6 separate regions of the Homo sapiens genome follow, and all the other regions are linked to region 1. The links are contacts of gene promoters, found by promoter capture Hi-C in blood cells and fetal thymus (Javierre and others, 2016). All regions are on one chromosome and are shown on one strand. The core of a region is centred on a gene start or on the middle of the fragment in contact, and the rest is flanking DNA. Distances in the headings are between cores, read along the strand shown.

Region 1 (2,997 bases), core at 302-2,801:
GGTCACCTCACTCCGCAACCCAAATCCAGGGGATTCATTCGTTGTCTAGGAATAACTTCTTCCACCTTGGGAATTCTCTGATTTACTCTTACCTAGGTCCACTGGTCTTGACCAAAATGTGAGGTGTCCTTAACTTAAGGTTTTGACTTTTAAGAGGCAGTCGAGGAAATAATATTATGAGGTCTGTCTATTTCTTTAGTGGTCAAAGACAGATAAGTAAAAAGGCAAAGCTAGAGTCCGAATGTATGGCTGCAGGTTCAAGATTCCAGGCCAAGTTCTTGGAACTCCAGCACCTCTAGACTCACCAGCCCCACCAGCCCCTCTGGCCCCTCCAGCCCCACCAGCCCCACCAGCCCCACCAGCCCCTCCAGCCCCTCCAGCTCTGCTGCAGGAAATCCTGCCTCAGGGAATCATGATGCACCACCCAAGGAAGTATTTGCAGAAAAAAGAGATTCCATTATTGCCTTCCCTCAAGGGTGGTGTTGAGCCCATTAAGCTTTTCCCCAGCAGTACACAGAGTAATCTTAGGGATTCTGGTGGGAAAAATATCCCAAATTCTGCTTCCTTATGCTTCACCACATGACCCTAGGGCACACGCACTAATCAAGAACAGCCCAGGGCATCCTGTCACCCCCCACGGTGCACCTGCAAACTGGCTTTTACAGCAACCTTGTCTTCCAAATGGGTCCGTATCTTTCTAGGCATCTTTTGTAATGCTAACCTGTTTGGCATTACCCAGAAATGCTAACATTTCTACCACTTTAACTAATCTTAAGAGATTAAATCACACTCCATGATACTCCTGACAACAAATAGCATTTTAACCAGTAATTTACGATAAGAAGATTTTCAATCAGTGGGCTAAGCCCTTCCCTGGTGATTTAAGAAACTGCCAGCCTCGATGGAGATTCTTCCATCAATTCCTCATCATTATAAAAGAAACAATGGAGGAAAAACTCATCCAATTAAGTGACAATTCCAATGTGTAAATCTTGTAATATTTTTTGCATTTGTGATATGGGTTCTACACTAAAAATGCAACTTGTCTAATCTGAATGAGATGAAAAATCCTGAAAAAGGATGTTATCCTCAATATTTTGTTTGTGCCTCTTGATTTAGTAAACTCCCAACCACTTTTTCATCCTTCCCTGCCAAACCCCGCTACAAAATGTTTCTCATTATGACCTGAGACATTAATTCTGATTGTAGAGGTTTTAGATCATTTCTTCTAGGTGTTAATCAGTTCTGGCCATATGGTGAGGGTGAGGTAATCATTATTACTTTACAATGAATGCCCTTAATTACTTTTTCAGTAGTAATATTAGTCCTTCTGTTTATTTGAGTACCTAAGAGCTGCAGGCAACGTGATCTGAATTACATGGAGGACAAGCTCCAGCTGACTTTCCGTAAACTCGCATTAGGATTCTAATAGGAGACGACAGGAGCAGGTGGGGATAATGAGCTGGCGGAAGGGGCTGCCTATCACACTGCTCGGTGGCCCCTCTTTCACCCCCACTTTGCCTCAGGCATTTTCTACTCAGCTGTGACCTTACTTATGGTGATGCCAATCCAGTGGTCAGGAGCGAGGCGCCCAGCCTGTGTCTGAATCCTCCTACTGACCCTGGGGATCCGTGCGACTTGATCTTAGATATTGGTGGTGAAGCGCCGCTCTCCTTGACAGCATCCAGGAAAGGTAATTACCTTTGCCAAAATGCAAGTGGAAGTTCAAAGCCTCAGCCTTGAAGAGTGTCCCTGGAGACTTCCAGGCCCCCAATGTGAATGTGAAGCCCTCCTGCCCAGTGGGGCAAGGCGCCGGATTGACCTTCGCCTGAGTGGGAGGGCAGTCGCTGTTTGGGTCCACGTTAGGGGCGGTCCAGGTCAATTTAACTTGTCATATGCCACGGGAAGACATAAGGTAAGTTAATGATTCTAAGATGAATCAACTGCTCTTTGAGTCAGTCAGTATCTCTTGAGAATTCATTCACTCAATCCATGAATGTTTTTGACTCTCTACTATGTGTTATGGAACTGGGCTTAACGACATTGAAGTAAAGAGAGAGACAGAGATTAATTCACTGCCCCAAAGAAGGCCTGGAATCTTCTTAGGGAAAAGAATCCTCACAAAACACTCCACTGAGTATTCTTGTGTTTAGCCTGAGTCATGTTGATTTGAAAAATTCCAGCGTAAAAATTGTATATTTTCACACAGTGTGGTAGAAGGAATGCGCTTGTTCTCAGACTATGTTTTGCCCTGGAGATGGGTCCACAGGAAGCCTCTATCTTGGTCACCCTTTGGCACAAGCTTTGCACCTGTTCCCTTCTCCTTGCCTAGATTCTTGTCTCTTCTCTCGCTTTAAAGACCAGGAGTTGTTGTTGTTGTTTTAGAGATAGTATCTTGCTCTGTCACCCAGGCTGGAGTGCAGTGTCACAATCATAGCTCACTGCAGCATCAACCTCCTGGCTTCAAGTGATCCTCCCAGAGGAGCCTCCCGGGTGGCTAGGACTACAGCCATGTGCCATCAGGCTTAGCTAATTTTTTTATTTTTTGTAGAAATGGGGTCTTGCCATGTTGCCCAGGCTGGTCTTGAACTCCTGTCCTCAAACGATCCTCCCACTTCAACATCCCGAAGTGCCACCCATGCCCAGCAAGACCTGGATCCTTAACTCTTTGCCTGTCTTTGATCTTTGACACCTCCTGATCCCCAAGCCCCTGCCTCCCACTAGGCAGGCATTTTTGGTTAAAGTATGAGCTCCCACTTTGTATTTATCTCCAGCTTTGGGTGTTCAGTTTGATGGGAACCACAGGTGTCCCCACCTAGTTCTCCAGCCCTAATTTGTTTTCTCCCATGTTGCAGTTCCTGGCTTCTTCCCATTTGCCCACACCCTCATTGTGGCACAGTGCCCCAAACTGACACATGCCACAGGCTCAGAGTATCTTCTGATATGAAGAATGACTCTGGTCATTCGAGGGCAGAGAGGATTTCATGACCTTTCCCT
Region 2 (2,997 bases), core at 202-2,701, 240 kb after region 1:
TACTGCACAGGCCTTAAAAAAACTACCTTAATCAATTTTTAAAAATTACTTCAAGTGTTATTTTGATAGCTTTTTAGAATTTATACTGTCTTGATTCACCTTGACAATAAAATTATCTATGCTTTTTTACTTCAAATAAGTTATTATCAAATAAGCAGAAGATATCTTATTTACATACCATAAAATTCTGCTGTAGGGGAGACCAAGAATACATTATGGGTACTGAAGCAACTGCATTCAGAGTCTTTAATGGGATGACTTGTGTTGGAAAATCCAAGTCACTGGTCACCGAACACTAAAACAGAAAAAATAAAATTGACTCTTAAGAATAAAAGGACAACCTTAAGCTGTAGCCATCATATTGTAAAGAGATGCTGCCTACCCAAATATTTAATTTTGAAAAAAAAGTCCTTACCTAGGACAGTAAAGTGGTCATATAAACCAAATAGGATTCTCTCTTTTCTTTTACTTAGGGTGCAAAAATGCTTCAAATTTTCCAAATTTTCAAAACCTCCAACCCTTCCCATACTTACCAATATCAGTAAGAATCAAAAACTGTACTTATATGAGATTCAGCGATCTGATTAACTCCTCCATGCTTTTCCTATACATTTATTTCCTAGCTCATCCTTCATTTCTCTTACATTCCAACCACACAGAATAGTAATATGTATACCAAATAAGCCACTTAAATCTTACTTAATAAGAATAAGAAAACTTGGGCCGGGCGCGGTGGCTCACGCCTGTAATCCCAGCACTTTGGGAGGCCGAGACGGGCGGATCACGAGGTCAGGAGATCGAGACCATCCTGGCTAACACGGTGAAACCCCGTCTCTACTAAAAATACAAAAATTAGCCAGGCATGGTGGCGCGCGCCTGTAGTCCCAGCTACACGGGAGGCTGAGGCAGGAGAATGGCGTGAACCCGGGAGGCGGAGCTTGCAGTGAGTCGAGATCGCGCCACTGCACTCCAGCCTGGGCGACAGAGCGAAACTCCGTCTCAAAAAAAAAAAAAATAAAATAAAATAAAATAAAAAGAATAAGAAAACTTGTTCAGTTAATCTTCCTTATCTTCCTTTTTTAAAATCTAAGTGTCAATTGCTGATATTATCAGATGATACATAAATATTAAGGGTAATGGGTTTGTGTTTCAATCACAACAAAGTAAATTTAAGTCTATTCTGCAAAACTGTAATCTCTGAATTAATAATATTAGCTGATTACTAAGTACTTTCTATGTGCTAGGCTATTTTAAACACATTACATGTCTTCTATTTAATCCTCATTACAACACTGTAAGATGGGTACTACTCTTAGCCCCCATTTTACAGGTGAGAAAACTATAGAAAAGAAAGGATAAGTAGCTTGCCCAAAGTTGCGCATGGTTCTCGGGCTAGAATGTAAACTCCAAAAGCCTGACTCTGGAGCCCCTGCTCTTCCCGCTCCTTATATTGCCATGATACCATATTGCTAAAATGTGTCAGTGCACATAGTCCCTTGAAACACCATATTTCATACAATCTATGATGACAGCGATTTCAAGGTACATCATTATCTTCTGTATCACTAAGAAAAAATGCTGCCAACTAAACAAAGGTATAATCCATTCTTATCACAGTGATTCTAAGATGCATGTTGTTTCCAATGTTAAAATGTGAAAAATTTTGCATCTTTGATTCTCTGAAATATGGTATAACTCTGTGCCTAAATAACCACAGCACTTTCCACCCTGTCTACGAATCCGAGATTCCTTAAAGAGTACTACTGCCCAGGTGTAAGTCCTCCAGAGCCTTCTCAAAAATATCCTAGACATACATTCATAATCCACAATCAATGAAAATAGAGCAAAAAAGAAGTGTAGTAAAATGAAACTGAAAAATCATTATATATATATATATACACACACACACACACACACACACACACACATATTAAATGTTTAAATTTTTTATTTAAAATGTCTTAAAAATAGCAGAACTAGTTGTGGTGAAATTCAGAGTAGAAATCTGGCATATGGGCCACACCTGACCCTCAGCATTGGGTTGCATCAGGCCAGTGGGATAATCTCTCAATCATCACAGTCACTGCAGCACAAAAATAATTCCTTCCTTAGTGGAAGTAAAGGTTTAAGGATGGAGTAGTTAGGAAGAACTGTGACAGTGATTCATCTATTAATTTGCTTTCCAAAAAGGCAAAGATAAAGGTAATAATACTAATAAGGCTCTTAACTCGAGTAAACAAGAAGGTGTGAACAGTTTACTAACACTCCAGAGCCCACAATCTTTCCCCTTCCTGCTATTTGGCCTCTGATACAATCCTTCATCCATCCATCCAATAATCCAATAAAAACAGCAGTTAACATTTATTGAGCACGTACTATGTTGCAGGCACTGTGCTAAGTGCTTGTATATATTATCTTAATTATTCCTCATTACAACCTTATGGTGTAGTTTTAGCATCAAAACTTCACAAATGAGGACACTGAGGTTCAGAGAAGTTATACAATTTGTCTAGTCAGAAAGGTAGCAAATTACAAAACCAGGATTAAAACCTGGATTTAAAGTCTGACTGCAACACCCGTGAGCTTAATTAATTACTGCACTGTAGTTCTTGCCCTTGCAATGCTCATGGGGTAAAATAACAATTACAGCCATGCAGTATTTACTATATAAAACAGAGACATGGCTGGGCACAGTGGCTCAAGCGTATAATCTCAGCACTTTGGCAGGCCAAGACGGGCAGATCGCTTGAGCCCAGAAGTTCAAGACCAGCCTGGGCAACATGGGGAAACCCTGTCTCTACTAAAAACACACAAAAAATTAGCCCAGCAAGGTAGCACGTGCCTGTAGTCCCAGCTACTTGAGGGGCTGAGGTGGGAGGATCACTTGAGCCTGGGAGGCAAAGGCTGCAGTAAGTTGTGATCAGCACCACTGCACTCCAGCCTGGGTGACGACGGGAGACCCCGCCTCAAAAAAAAAAAAAAAAAGAAAATAGAGAC
Region 3 (2,932 bases), core at 1-2,500, 220 kb after region 1:
TTTGCAGCGGCATCCCGGAAAGCGGTTTTGACCTTCAGAGAGAGGTTTGGAGGTTCTTCACTCATCACCGTATGCAAAAACTTGCAGAAAGATACGTGGCAAGGGCTGTACTGGGCATCTCACTGACTCTCAACCCTCACAACCACCTTATTACCCTACTATATAGACAAGGAAATGGAAGTATTAACAGCGAAGTTATAGCTGTTTGCACTGAAAAAGACCACCACTGAGTTGTTTTTCCATTTTTCATTTGTTAAATAGTGTATATATTTAAAGTCGGTGTGAATAAAGGGTCTGGATGGAACAATATCCATGGTCCTTGACCATTCCAATAGCCCCTAGTTCTAAACACTCCCTTAATACCCAAGCTTCATGTGCAGTCTCATTAAACAATTATAAAAATCTACTATGTTTATGCTACATTCCTTTAATCTGAAGACTAAAACCCTCCTAACTCTGACGATTTCTGGTGCCCAAAAATTATTTGGGTAGCTCCTTCTAGATTCCTCTTACAATCTGTGCCAACTTTAATACAACTTAATTTAAATGATCAAAGAAGAAAAAAATAAAATTCAGGTTCCTTTAATACAACTTTGCCTGCCTCACACACACAGACACACAACACCCAGGCGACTGACTGGCCACTGGCACAGGGCCAGGTATGGGGCTCAATAAATACTTGTCAAATTGATGAGTTTCGTCAAGTAAACAAGGGAGTGCTCCCATGTTCTTATTTTTGATTTTTTAAATTGCTAACCAAAGACCTATTTAGTTCTCATGCAATTGCATCAAAGCAACAAATACTTACACTCTGAACTACATTGACAAAACTTTTCACAAAAATTTTGTGCTATCACACAAGGGCACGAACTGTCACAAGGCTGCCGTGGATGATCACAGGGTTGATAGTTGTAAACATGGTTAGAGGAGCCGTCTGAGTAAAGATAACATCATGCAGGCCAATGAATCCAGGGAGATGGAAACGATCATACACAATTAACACGAGTACATTCTTCCCTACTACCTGTGGAGTGTAGCTGGCCTGCCTTTACTGAATGCATAACATTACACATATTCCGGTTTCCACAACGATGGCAAAAAATACTCTCCCACCCCCAAGTGCTTATGAGTTCCATCTAAAGCACGGCTACATCTCAGTCCCATCCCAAAGCACTTCTCCTTCAACTGACTCGGACTCACACCTTCCAGTCAGCCTCCACTTTACAGAAGAGAATTGACTGGGGATTCATCAGTAGACGTCCTCCATTCAAATTGGTTTAACATACAGAAGGCAATTATATTAGAATAACCCAAGCTCTAATCCAGTTACTATTCTAAAACAAATGAAAACAAAGCAGATATTGTTAAGCTAATAATGAGAGGAATGGAAAGATGCTAACCCTTTTTCAGCTGTATCTTTCTGCAGTGTGCAGCCCACAACCTGCAAAAACACAAAGAAAATTAAACCAAATTTCTGCGGGAAGCTACAAATCCAACAGAGAGCTGCTTAACTGGATCTATCTGTGCCATGAATACAGGAATGCGTTAAAGCCAAGAGTCATGCCCTGCCCAGTTTATATTTGCCATCAGTTTGAAGCAACTCAAACAGCTTGATGGCTCAGGCTGCCCCAGGTGTGGCAAGACGTCATTTCCTGTGTTCATCCATGACTCCTGGTCAGAACTCCTGAGCTCCCAATGCTGCACAAAGCAGCAGGTGTGTCTGCCTGTTGATTTATTCTGATGTGGATGACACTGATCACTTCCTCTTATTTCAGGCATCATAAACCAAGCAAGTGAACTACGTGGTCAGAAATAATTCAACCAAAATTTCAGAAGCATCTCCTAAAGCCTAAAAAATAAAAATAAAAACTTGACTTTAAAAAAATTCTAAATTGGGTTGGCCCTACACTTATTTTTGTTAAAGTAAGAAAATGTAACATGAGCCTGTACACAATTTAAGAAGCATAATCTAACTGCACCCTTACCTACCCAATTAGGTTTCTCATTTTTAAAAATGTGAGGTAGAGGTATGGGGAGATTAGAGCAGATAGTCCACTCATCAATTTTTCTGGTTCTACATTTACAAATCAAATCAGCCTGAAAACATTCGCTAAGGTGAAAATAACATTCACACAAGCTTAAAGTAGGGTACCCATTAGGAGTATCGGAATGCAATGCCACACAACTTAGAAATTCAAGCTCCTGGAATAAAAGATACTTCTAAAAACTGGCCCAGAGCTCACATCAGAAACACAGAACATTTCATGATGTTAAAGTAATTGTTTACGTAACCTTTACTGCAAAAGCTACTAAATATGTTTTTCTTAACCCAAATGCAGTCTGGTAACCGTAATTTTTATGACTCTTAACATACCAAATATACTGAAGGCTGCTGTATTCTTATAGAAAAATACTAGCAATTCCCAGTGGAAATAAGATTCCATAGTTCTGTTTTTGATGGCAGTTTAAGGTTTTTTAAAAATAGACTAAGTAGAAACCAACAACAGCCCTTAGGAAGGGCCTTGCCTGCAGTGTCTATCTATGTTGACTTCTCTAAGGAGCTTCATGACAGACTCACCGGTGTTTCCTCTTCTTTTTCCTTGGAGGAGTATCCACATCCTCAGCGGGAGCTGGAGCTATGATGCTAGATTCTTTGACTCTAAACTCATACACCTGACAAGAGGCACAGTCACAGAGCCATGAGGACAGTCTTATTTAGGCAAACCATTCTTATACTCATGCATACCAGAAAAATGTCTTTGTCTCTTCTGTGACACTGCTAGATGCTGGGGATATAACACACATCGCTGTCCCTACCCTCACATTAGGGGTAGCTGTAATTATATTCTGGTCAAGAACTGTGATGCTAAATTTCAATTCTTACTAGCTTTTAAAAGCTACTGCTATCTAACCTTAAAAGTCTACATTGGGG
Region 4 (2,997 bases), core at 240-2,739, 200 kb after region 1:
AAACCTTTTTTAAGATTGTACCTTCCAGTGCTTAAAGTGCTTTACAAGAGAGGCAGACACCTGGCGTTTGTATTTTACTTTTATGTAAGCACTGACTTTGTACTGTAAGCTTGGAACAGTGGGCTTTACTTAGAAACGCTGCCTGTAGGATGTGGTGAGATCTGTATTCCATATAATGCTGTCCTTTTATCTAGTTGGAACGTAGTTATCAGCGATTCACAGCTTTCTACGCCAGCCGCCACAGTGGCCGAAAATTGACGTGGTTATATCAGTTGTCTAAAGGAGAATTGGTAACTAACTGCTTCAAAAACAGATATACTTTGCAGGTAAGATCACATTTTTATCTTAAAATTTTTCTATTCTAAATGAACATAAGGCAAATTATGGAAATCATTATCAGCTGACTCAGCAGCAGAATCTAGAATTCAGCTTCTGGTGAAATAGTGGCAGGTTTAAAGCATGGAGTTGTAAGAATCAGATGAACCAAATTCCAATTCTTTCTGGCTGGGGAGCAAGTTATTTAATGATTGTGAGCCTCAGTTTTCTCCTCCATTAATGGGAGTGTTAGTACTTTATAGTTGGGAATTGATGTGAAAATTAAATAATGTATTTAGTAAGTGTTTGGCACCGCTCCTGCCTGACACACATCAGCTGTTCAGGTAGTGACTTCAAAAGCTGGAGTTGCATGCATTTCATTATATCAGCTCTCCACCTTACACAGAGCACTTTCACATTAATAACACTCAGTGCTGACAACAATATTGAGTACAACCTAATTTATACCTATGTAACTAAGAATATTTCCATTTCTTAGAGGAGAAAACTGAGGCTTGGGTTAATTTAAGTGAATTTCTCTGAATCCTAGCTTATATGTAGCTGAGCCAAAATTTCAGTTAAAGTCTTTTCTCTTAAAGTCTAGGCTTGGGCTGGTGTGGTGGCTCACGCTTGTAATCCTCACGCTTTGGGAGGCTGAGACCAGAGAATCACTTGAGGCTAGGAGTTTGAGACAAGCCTGGACAACATAGCAAGACCCCATCTCTAGATATTTTTTAAAGTAAAAAGAAAAAAAAGTCCAAGCTCTTTCTACTTCCACTTTTGTACTGAGTGGTCTTCACAAGTAATGGCATATTTTAGTCTCTGAGAAGTTTTCACCAGTGAGTTTCTAAGAAGAATTGCAAATCTGTGTTTAAGTATTAAGAAACTCCAGAATGGGTTGTTCTGCAGACTCAAGCTGCTCATTAATTTAAACTTTTCGTAAATCTACTGTGACTTAAAATTGTTAAAATGCATAGTATTATGCTGGCTCCAGAGGTCTTTATCAACTTGAATGTTTCTTACTATACAATTGAAATTTTGTTTCATTTATCCCCAAATATACATAGAAGAATCCATGTGTTCCACTACAGTACCTGGAATTTCAGTGTCCAGTTTTTGACGGTGGAGGCTTTGCCTAGGGTGTGTCTGCCGTGTTAAGGCAGCCCGGAGCGGGCCCAATAGAAAACATTAGCAACACGCTCGTTCCCTTGTATCTCTGTTCAAGGCCCTGGAAGCAGTGTTGTCTGTGGGCCGCCCTGAAACAGGCATGTGGCGTTTTTTGTTTCTCTTTCCATTGACCAAGGTCTTGCCGAGAGGCAAGCAGTGACTGACAGTCATGGGTCATTACTTGTTGCTGTCGATTATGCAAGAAAACAGGGAGAAGAGAAGGAAGGCGTCCTCGGGGTGTTCATTCGCTTGCACACACTCAGCAATCAGGAACCAACACGTGCTACCTGTCTTTTAGAAGATACTTTAGGGCCGGGTGCAGTGGCTCAGCCTGTAATCCTAGCACTTTGGGAGGCCAAGGCAGGCAGATCACAAGGTCAGGAGTTCGAGACCAGCCTGGCCAGCATGGCGAAACCCCATCTCTACTAAAATACAAAAATTAGCTGGGTGTGGTGGTGCACGCCTATAGCCCCAGCTACTCTGGAGGCCAAGGCAGGAGAATCCCTTGAACCTGGGAGGCGGAGGTTGCAGTGAGTCGAGATTGTGCCACTGCACTCCAGCCTGGGTGACAGAGCAAGACTTTGTCTCAAAAAAAAAAAAAAATAGAAATTTAGTACACTTGCCATTTCATACTTTACTTACTTTTTTCATACTTTCATAGTAAAGTACTTAGGATTAGAAAACCAAATATAATTTGATATTTGTGTTGTTTTACATCAATAATGTGCCAAAAGATAATATTCCTTAGCTCATGTGCCAAAAACAGATTTGGAGATTGATGCTTAACATGTCCATATATACCAGGTGTGTGTATATGTGATTGTCTCTATAAATGCGTGGGGACGTATCTATAGTATGTATCCACATAGACAATACGTTTTTTAAAAAAAACCCTCAAATTATTTTAATGTTTGTAAACATGGAAAATGAATGACTTTGGGAAAATGTTGCATTGTAGTGGCATTGCCACGTTTTATATTCCCTTTTAAATAGATCTGTGCTTTTTTTGTACTTGTTTAAAGAATTTGTTTCATAAATAAGTTCTTCAAACTTGGGCTGTATATTTTGGGAGGTGTTTCCATGCATGTAAATTTTCCTTCTTTTTCTTTTATATGGGGGGCCGCAAAGGCGTCGACATTCCAGATGGCTATCCTGCTTCAGTACAACACGGAAGATGCCTACACTGTGCAGCAGCTGACCGACAGCACTCAAATTAAAATGGTATTCTCATCTCAGGCTCGTTGTTCTATCAGCTTGCCGTTTCCTTGTTCTCGTGGATATTGTTAGGAAAGATAAGGAAGAGGATATGGGCATCTTTAATTTGAAATAGATGTTTGCCTCATGAATATGAATATGGCCTTATTCCAGGATTTTAATACGCACTACAAAAAGCTTCATGTTAAAACTCATTGTTGAGCCAGGCATGGTGGCACATGCCTGTAGTCCCAGCTTCTTGGGAGGCTGGGGCGGGAGGATCACTTGAGCCTGGGAGGTCGAGGCTGCAGTGAGCTATGA
Region 5 (2,997 bases), core at 149-2,648, 170 kb after region 1:
ACAAAAAAATTTATCTGGGCATGGTGGCACGTGCCTGTAATCCCAGCTATTCAGGAGGCTGAAGCAGGAGAATCGCTTGAACCTGGGAGGCGGAGGTTGCAGTGAGCCGAGATTGTGCCACTGCCCTCCAGCCTGGGTGACAGAGTGAGACTCTGTCTCAAAAGAAAAAGAAAAAGAAATATGGATATCCTGGATTTAGACTCTAAGGAATGACCTAGGTCTGGAGTCAGCAAACTTATCTTGTAAAGGGCTAGAAAGGAAATACTTTAGGCTTTGTGAGCTATGTGATCTCTTTTGCAGCTGTTCAACTCTGCCATTGCAGCACAAAGCAGCCAGTGGGATATGTACACAACTGAGTGTGGCCGGGTTCCAATAAAACTTTATTTACAGAAAAAGGCAGGCAGGCAGAATTTGGCCTACAGGCTACAGTTTGCTGACCCTTGACCTAGCTGTACTAGGACAATGGTCCCCAACCCTTTTGGCATCACAGACGGTGGCTGGGGGAAGAAGGGGGATGGTTTTGGGACGAAACTGTTCCACCTCAGATCAAAGGAGCGTGCAACATAGATCCCTCACGTGTGTAGTTCACAGTAGGGTTCGAGCTCCTATGAGAATCTAATGCCGTCCCTGATCTGACAGGAGGCGGAGCTCAGGTAGTAATGCTCACTCATATGCTGGTCACCTCCTGTTGTGCGGCCCAGTTCCTAACAGGCCACAGACCCATACTGGCCCACAGCCAGCGATTGAGGATCCTTGTACTAGGAGATCTCCAGGAGTCTGGATCTTTCCAAGCCTGACACCTGCTTGCCCTGTATTCCCTGTTCACTTGGAGTATGAATGGACTGCGGAATCTCTTTTCCGTATGCTGAGATAGAAAGTCAATTAAAAGCAACAGCTCTGCTCTAACCTCATAGAGAAAGTCCTATCCGGTTTGTTTGTGGTGACCTGAATGCATTTTCCTATAGGAGATAGTGGTTATAAATGGGCTTAGAAGTTTGAAGTTGAAAGTCCTTGACAAATCTCTGCTATCTCAAAATCTAACAAAAATGGAACTATTCGGGGTATTATACTTGGAATATTAATGGTTCCTTGTGTATAATGGTGGGCTAAATTGACTTTCCTATGCCAATCTGGAACCTAACCAGCTCACCCAGAGTTTCAAACAACTGCCTAACAAATGAACTTTTGAAACAGTCTGTTTTAAACGTTAACATTGCCTGTTATTTCATTGTTTAATATGACAGTGTTGTATTCCTAAACACTTCTCTTATGAAACTCTGCTGTATATGGTGATTCTTTTAAAACTATATATCCCAAAGACCTCTTATCCAGATGCACATCCACGACAGTGGCGCGAGCCTGTTCTTTTTATGGGTTTATTAGAGGATTGTGGTCATCTCCTTTGTCCACACTGATGAAGTAGTAGTGCTCTAGGGCAAGGAAACCAGTGTTCTAGGGCAGAGCTACTGAAGCACTCCCAGAACAGGTAAATCTGTTTTTAAAACCAGGCCTAGGCCGGGCGCGGTGGCTCACGCCTGTGATCCTAGCACTTTGGGAGGCCGAGGTGGGCAGATTGCCTGAGGTCGGGAGTTCGAGACCAGCCTGGCCAGCATGGTGAAACCCTCTCTCTAATAAAAATACAAAAATTAGCCAAGTGTGGTGGCGGACGCCTGTTATCCCAGCTACTTGGGAAGCTGAGGCAGGAGAATCACTTGAACCTGGGAGGCGGAGGTTGCAGTGAGCCGAGATCGCGCCATTGCACTCCAGCCTGGGCAACAGAGTGAGACTCTGTCTCAAAAAAAAAAATAAAAATAAAAATAAAACCAGGCCTGACACCAAAGACGGTTGAGGAGCAAGAATTTCCAATGGCCTCGATGTTTTCAATCCAGCATGAGGCCCGCCTTCAAGGAAGCAGTGTGCTTCCTACATCCTGGTTCCCATAGAGGGGATTCATTTCTAGAAGAGTTAAAGGTTTGGCCCGGATCCACTTGGATCACACCAAACACGACTTCCATCATATTCTGAAAGATGATAATGCAGAGAGTCTATAAGCATAAAACTGGAATTTGACCATGTAATTCTGCTCTCATCCTATAGCCTTGCATCTCAAACTGAGCTATGAGTCTATTTTTAAATCCCCACCCCACCATTTATTAGGGGGATGACCTTAATGCTTCTGTTCCTCAAATTCCTTATCTGTAAAATGTGAATAATAATAATAGGTAATAATGAGGATTAAGTGAGCTTTAGTATTTACAAATTTTAACATGAGGTATTTATTTGTTAAAAGGTGCTTAGATTGGTGTGTGGCAAAGAGCAAAGCTAATGTATTTGGTATTACAAATATACATCCCACAAAACCTCCAGTGTATGCCTGGGAGGATGCAAAACCACAGGATAAAGGGTGGCAAATCTTACTCAATAACTTAGGGAGCAATTGTGTTTACATTACAACAAACATTCTATCAGGAAATAGAACAACTATGAGATAAAACATGACCCTTCAAGAAATACTCTGCAAATTCTAGCCAGTTGAGAGCAGTTCAAATTCCCTGGGTCTGTGTTCACTTTTCTCTATTAGGAGTGTTTTACAGGAAACATCTAAGAATATTTGGCTTGTCTTTCCAAGGATGGCTTTGAAGAGTGAACCATGTTAGTGTTTCTAAAAGATTTGACTGTCTCATGCGATTGAGACTGATCTGAGCTACAGAAACTCTGTATGACTACTGTAGGTTTCTAATGTCATTTTTTAAAAACTTTAAAAATATACCATACTTCATTAATTTGCTTGTCTTTTTTGGTTTTTATTTTCCTTTTGTTTTTACTGAGAACCGATCCTAGTGAATTAATAAAGACCATCTTTAATTGCATACTTTTATTTAGTCATTTGAATTTGACCTTGGTGTTCTAATACAACAGTCTGCCAAGTACAGTGATGATCAGGAGCCTATTTGACTTGGAATCATTAGAGAACCTAAATGGCTGTCCTTTCTGAAA
Region 6 (2,997 bases), core at 308-2,807, 150 kb after region 1:
ACACCATATGGAAAGGAACTGTCCCTTATAAGGTGGTGGACTTCTATATGAGTTTTTAAAAATTGCTCTTCTTTGCCTTCTAGATTTTCGTATAGAGCATGCATTTAAAAGTGCAGTTTATTAGTTTGCCTTTTGCAAATGTTAAGCCTAGTTTGCAAAGTTCTTGCTATCTTTTACTACTGACCTGGTACTATTAAAATCATTCTTAGGATTGAGAAATTGTATATCTGTCTTAAAGTAAGACCCTGTAGAAATTATGAGATTGTGTACTTGTCACAAGTGATTTTTTTTTTTTTTGGTGGGGTAGGCGGTTAGTATAAATATGGCATGTTCTTCAGCTATTTTTCAAAGTTTGATTCACGGTAATTATACTCAGAGTACTTTGAACATTATGTAACACATTTTTTAGTTCATTATAATCAATTGCAATTAGTTTTTACTTTTGAAGTATGCTATTAGATGTGAATTTATTTGCTTTGTATGGGATATTTCTTTTCAGAAATGCACGTACCCACAGACTGGACAGGACTTTATTCTTTTATAACTACAGACGGATTATACAGGATAGTATGTGAGCCTGCTGTTCTGCCATTTGGTACAGGTTAACTTGTTAATGTTTGAAGATAGGAAGTACGATATATGTGTGTGTGTGTATATATATATATTTTTATATTTATTTATTTATTTATTTATTTATTTATTTATTTATTTTCAGAGGGCGCCTCACTCTGTTGCCCAGGCTGGAGTGCAGTGGTGCAATCTTGGCTCATTGCAACCTCCGCCTCCTGGGTTCAAGCAATTCTCATACCTCAGCCTCCCGAGTGGCTGGGATTACAGGTGCGTGCCACCATGCCCAGCTAATTTTTGTATTTTTAGTAGATACGGGGTTTCATGTTAGCCAGGCTGGTCTTGAGCTCCTGACCTCAAGCAATCTGTTCACCTCGGCCTCCCAAAGTGCTGGGATTACAGGGGTGAGCCACCACACCCAGCCTAGGAAGTACTGTATTTTTAATAAAACTTTTAGTGCAGAGTCTTTCCATGTGATTTTAATAGAAGTTACTTGTTTAAATTTCCACTTCTTAAGTCGCATTTGGGAAACAAGTGGTAGTAGGAAGTGATTCTGTTCTGTTTAGTTTTGCTTCTTTGATTGAATTGGCTTTTCTTTTAGCTAATGAGAATGGTTGGAGTTTGGCAATAACTAAAAGTCAAGAATTGATTCCCCAGGTGTGTTCACTTCAGAAATAAGGCATGGTGCTGTGGGTAACAGAGACATTTGAGAATACTGGCTCCGTCATCCTGCTGCTCACTTTATATTACGTTAGTAGTAGATGCTGAACTCCAGGAAGGCAGTCTGTTGGTGAGGCCTAAGTCACACACATGGTACCTGGCACTGGACAGGTGCCCAGAAGGTGTCTGCTTGCTGAAAGGTGAGATGTGAAGCTTTGCATCTGATAGGACCCTTTCACAGTGACTTGCCCCTCCCCATCAGTACAGAAGCATGCCTTGGCAGACAACGTTTCTAGGATGACAGAAGAGTTGTAGGACCTATTTTGGAGGCTGAACCAGGCTTGGCTCTTGGACATAAACCCCTGTACCACCTTACACCATTTCCCCACCTGCCTGCGGAGGAGGCCCCAGATACCTGCTTACGTTCTCACCTGCTTTCTGGCCAAAGAAGCTTTCAGAGGACCTTCAGCAAAGAACCTCAGAGTTTTAAAAGTCAAATGTATGGGTTTGTTAGAGTCTATGGCTGCCTTAGTATAAAATACCTAATCTATTGTCTGCTGAATGAAACTTCTATTTTATTGCCTTGTAGACTTTTAATTTTTTATCTCTGATGTTTTTGCTTTTTCTTATTTCATCTTAATTCCTATATTTAACTTGTCCTCATACTGTTTTAATTTTTTTTCCCTTTAAGAATAACTTTAGATGTGACCATTTTTCTCCTAAAGATTAGTCATAGTTCGTTTTTCTACTCTTCTAAAGTAAATGATTTATGAACACTTAATTTGTGTGCATGTTGAGGCAACAGGTGGTGAGTGTGGCATTGTGGGGGGCGGTGGGTTCAGGGAGCAGCAGGAGCCCAGGCATAGAGAGCAGCGGGGAGGCTCCGGCCCTGTCCTTTCACACAGGCGCCCTTCAGGGCTCATTCTTCAGGAAAATGGCACACCTCATAATTCAGGAATACATCCGTTTCACAGTCCTTCCTTGAACATGGGGAATTCTCCCCTTCCAGATAATACACTTGAATTATCCCAATAGCGCTTTTTCCTCAGGTCTCATACCAGTGAGGTGTGAGGAGGGGCTGGTGGCCTGGACAGATCTCCCTCAGGCAGCTTCTGATCACATGAAGAGCCTGCTCATTCCATTTCTGATAACATTTCTCCATATAGTTCAGTTGATTTAAAGCTGAGATAAAAATACTGTGAAGCTAAGACTGTGTGTCATCAGAGCTATATAAGATCTGCTTTCACTCCTGCCTCTGCTGACTCAGCCTGGATTCAAAGCACAGTTGATCCTGTTCTTTAGGCGAAGGTGCCCTAAACCGGGGGCACCTCTCGGGCTGCCATGTAAACTTCGTGTCCGTTGAGCACCTTTTTATATGCTCGTTGACCATTCGTATGTCATCTTTTGTAAAGTGTCCAAGTCTTTCGCCTCCTGTTTTTTCCATTTTGGGGATATTTTGCTTTTTGTTAGTTTTAGTTCTTTATATGTCAAGGATACCAGTGTTTTGTCAGATATATTTTGCTAATATTTTCTTCAAGTCTGAGGCTTGCTAATCATTTTCTTAATGGTGTCTTTGGGTGAGCAAATGTTTACTTTGGGGAAACCTAATTTATTGGTTTTATTTTATTTTTGCAGTTATTGCCTCTGTGACATAAGAAACCTTTGCCTAGATCTCAAATATATTTTGTGTTTTCCTCATAAGACTTTATGGTTTGGGCATTTACTTTTAGACCTGTGATCCACCTGGAGTTAACTTTTGTATATGGTGTA

Evidence for each region. The method cuts DNA at HindIII sites, captures the fragments that hold promoters and counts their contacts. A CHiCAGO score of 5 or more calls a contact.
Region 2: a contact is called between a fragment that was not itself captured here and the fragment with the promoter of C7orf33 in region 1, in 8 of 17 cell types (non-activated CD4 T cells, naive CD4 T cells, activated CD4 T cells and 5 more). The highest score is 10.3, in non-activated CD4 T cells.
Region 3: a contact is called between a fragment that was not itself captured here and the fragment with the promoter of C7orf33 in region 1, in 9 of 17 cell types (activated CD4 T cells, non-activated CD4 T cells, total CD4 T cells and 6 more). The highest score is 13.7, in activated CD4 T cells.
Region 4: a fragment that was not itself captured here is called in contact with the fragment with the promoter of C7orf33 in region 1 in 4 of 17 cell types (activated CD4 T cells, naive CD8 T cells, non-activated CD4 T cells and 1 more); the score reaches 10.6 in activated CD4 T cells.
Region 5: a fragment that was not itself captured here is called in contact with the fragment with the promoter of C7orf33 in region 1 in 10 of 17 cell types (activated CD4 T cells, non-activated CD4 T cells, naive CD4 T cells and 7 more); the score reaches 14.4 in activated CD4 T cells.
Region 6: a fragment that was not itself captured here is called in contact with the fragment with the promoter of C7orf33 in region 1 in 11 of 17 cell types (activated CD4 T cells, naive CD4 T cells, total CD4 T cells and 8 more); the score reaches 12.6 in activated CD4 T cells.

The regions. Positions count from the first base shown.
Region 1 is chr7:148,589,215-148,592,211 of GRCh38, forward strand. It overlaps C7orf33 (chromosome 7 open reading frame 33), which reads left to right and starts at 1,552. Exons shown (of 3, transcript NM_145304.4): 1 at 1,552-1,915. The coding sequence starts at 1,712. The HindIII fragment of the contact is 1,806 bases long and covers 495-2,300 here.
Region 2 is chr7:148,832,456-148,835,452 of GRCh38, forward strand. EZH2 (enhancer of zeste 2 polycomb repressive complex 2 subunit) reads right to left here. Exons shown (of 20, transcript NM_004456.5): 4 at 179-295. Among named protein-coding and RNA genes, the nearest start is that of EZH2, 50 kb to the right of the region's middle. The HindIII fragment of the contact is 3,642 bases long and covers 1-2,997 here.
Region 3 is chr7:148,814,106-148,817,037 of GRCh38, forward strand. EZH2 (enhancer of zeste 2 polycomb repressive complex 2 subunit) reads right to left here. Exons shown (of 20, transcript NM_004456.5): 12 at 2,579-2,673; 13 at 1,401-1,441; 14 at 809-934; 15 at 1-32. Among named protein-coding and RNA genes, the nearest start is that of EZH2, 69 kb to the right of the region's middle. The HindIII fragment of the contact is 1,769 bases long and covers 367-2,135 here.
Region 4 is chr7:148,790,116-148,793,112 of GRCh38, forward strand. CUL1 (cullin 1) reads left to right here. Exons shown (of 22, transcript NM_003592.3): 16 at 195-326; 17 at 2,611-2,703. Among named protein-coding and RNA genes, the nearest start is that of EZH2, 93 kb to the right of the region's middle. The HindIII fragment of the contact is 2,765 bases long and covers 108-2,872 here.
Region 5 is chr7:148,761,352-148,764,348 of GRCh38, forward strand. All of the region lies in intron 7 of CUL1 (cullin 1), which reads left to right. Among named protein-coding and RNA genes, the nearest start is that of CUL1, 64 kb to the left of the region's middle. The HindIII fragment of the contact is 4,501 bases long and covers 1-2,997 here.
Region 6 is chr7:148,736,907-148,739,903 of GRCh38, forward strand. The region is part of intron 2 of CUL1 (cullin 1); the gene reads left to right. Among named protein-coding and RNA genes, the nearest start is that of CUL1, 40 kb to the left of the region's middle. The HindIII fragment of the contact is 238 bases long and covers 1,439-1,676 here.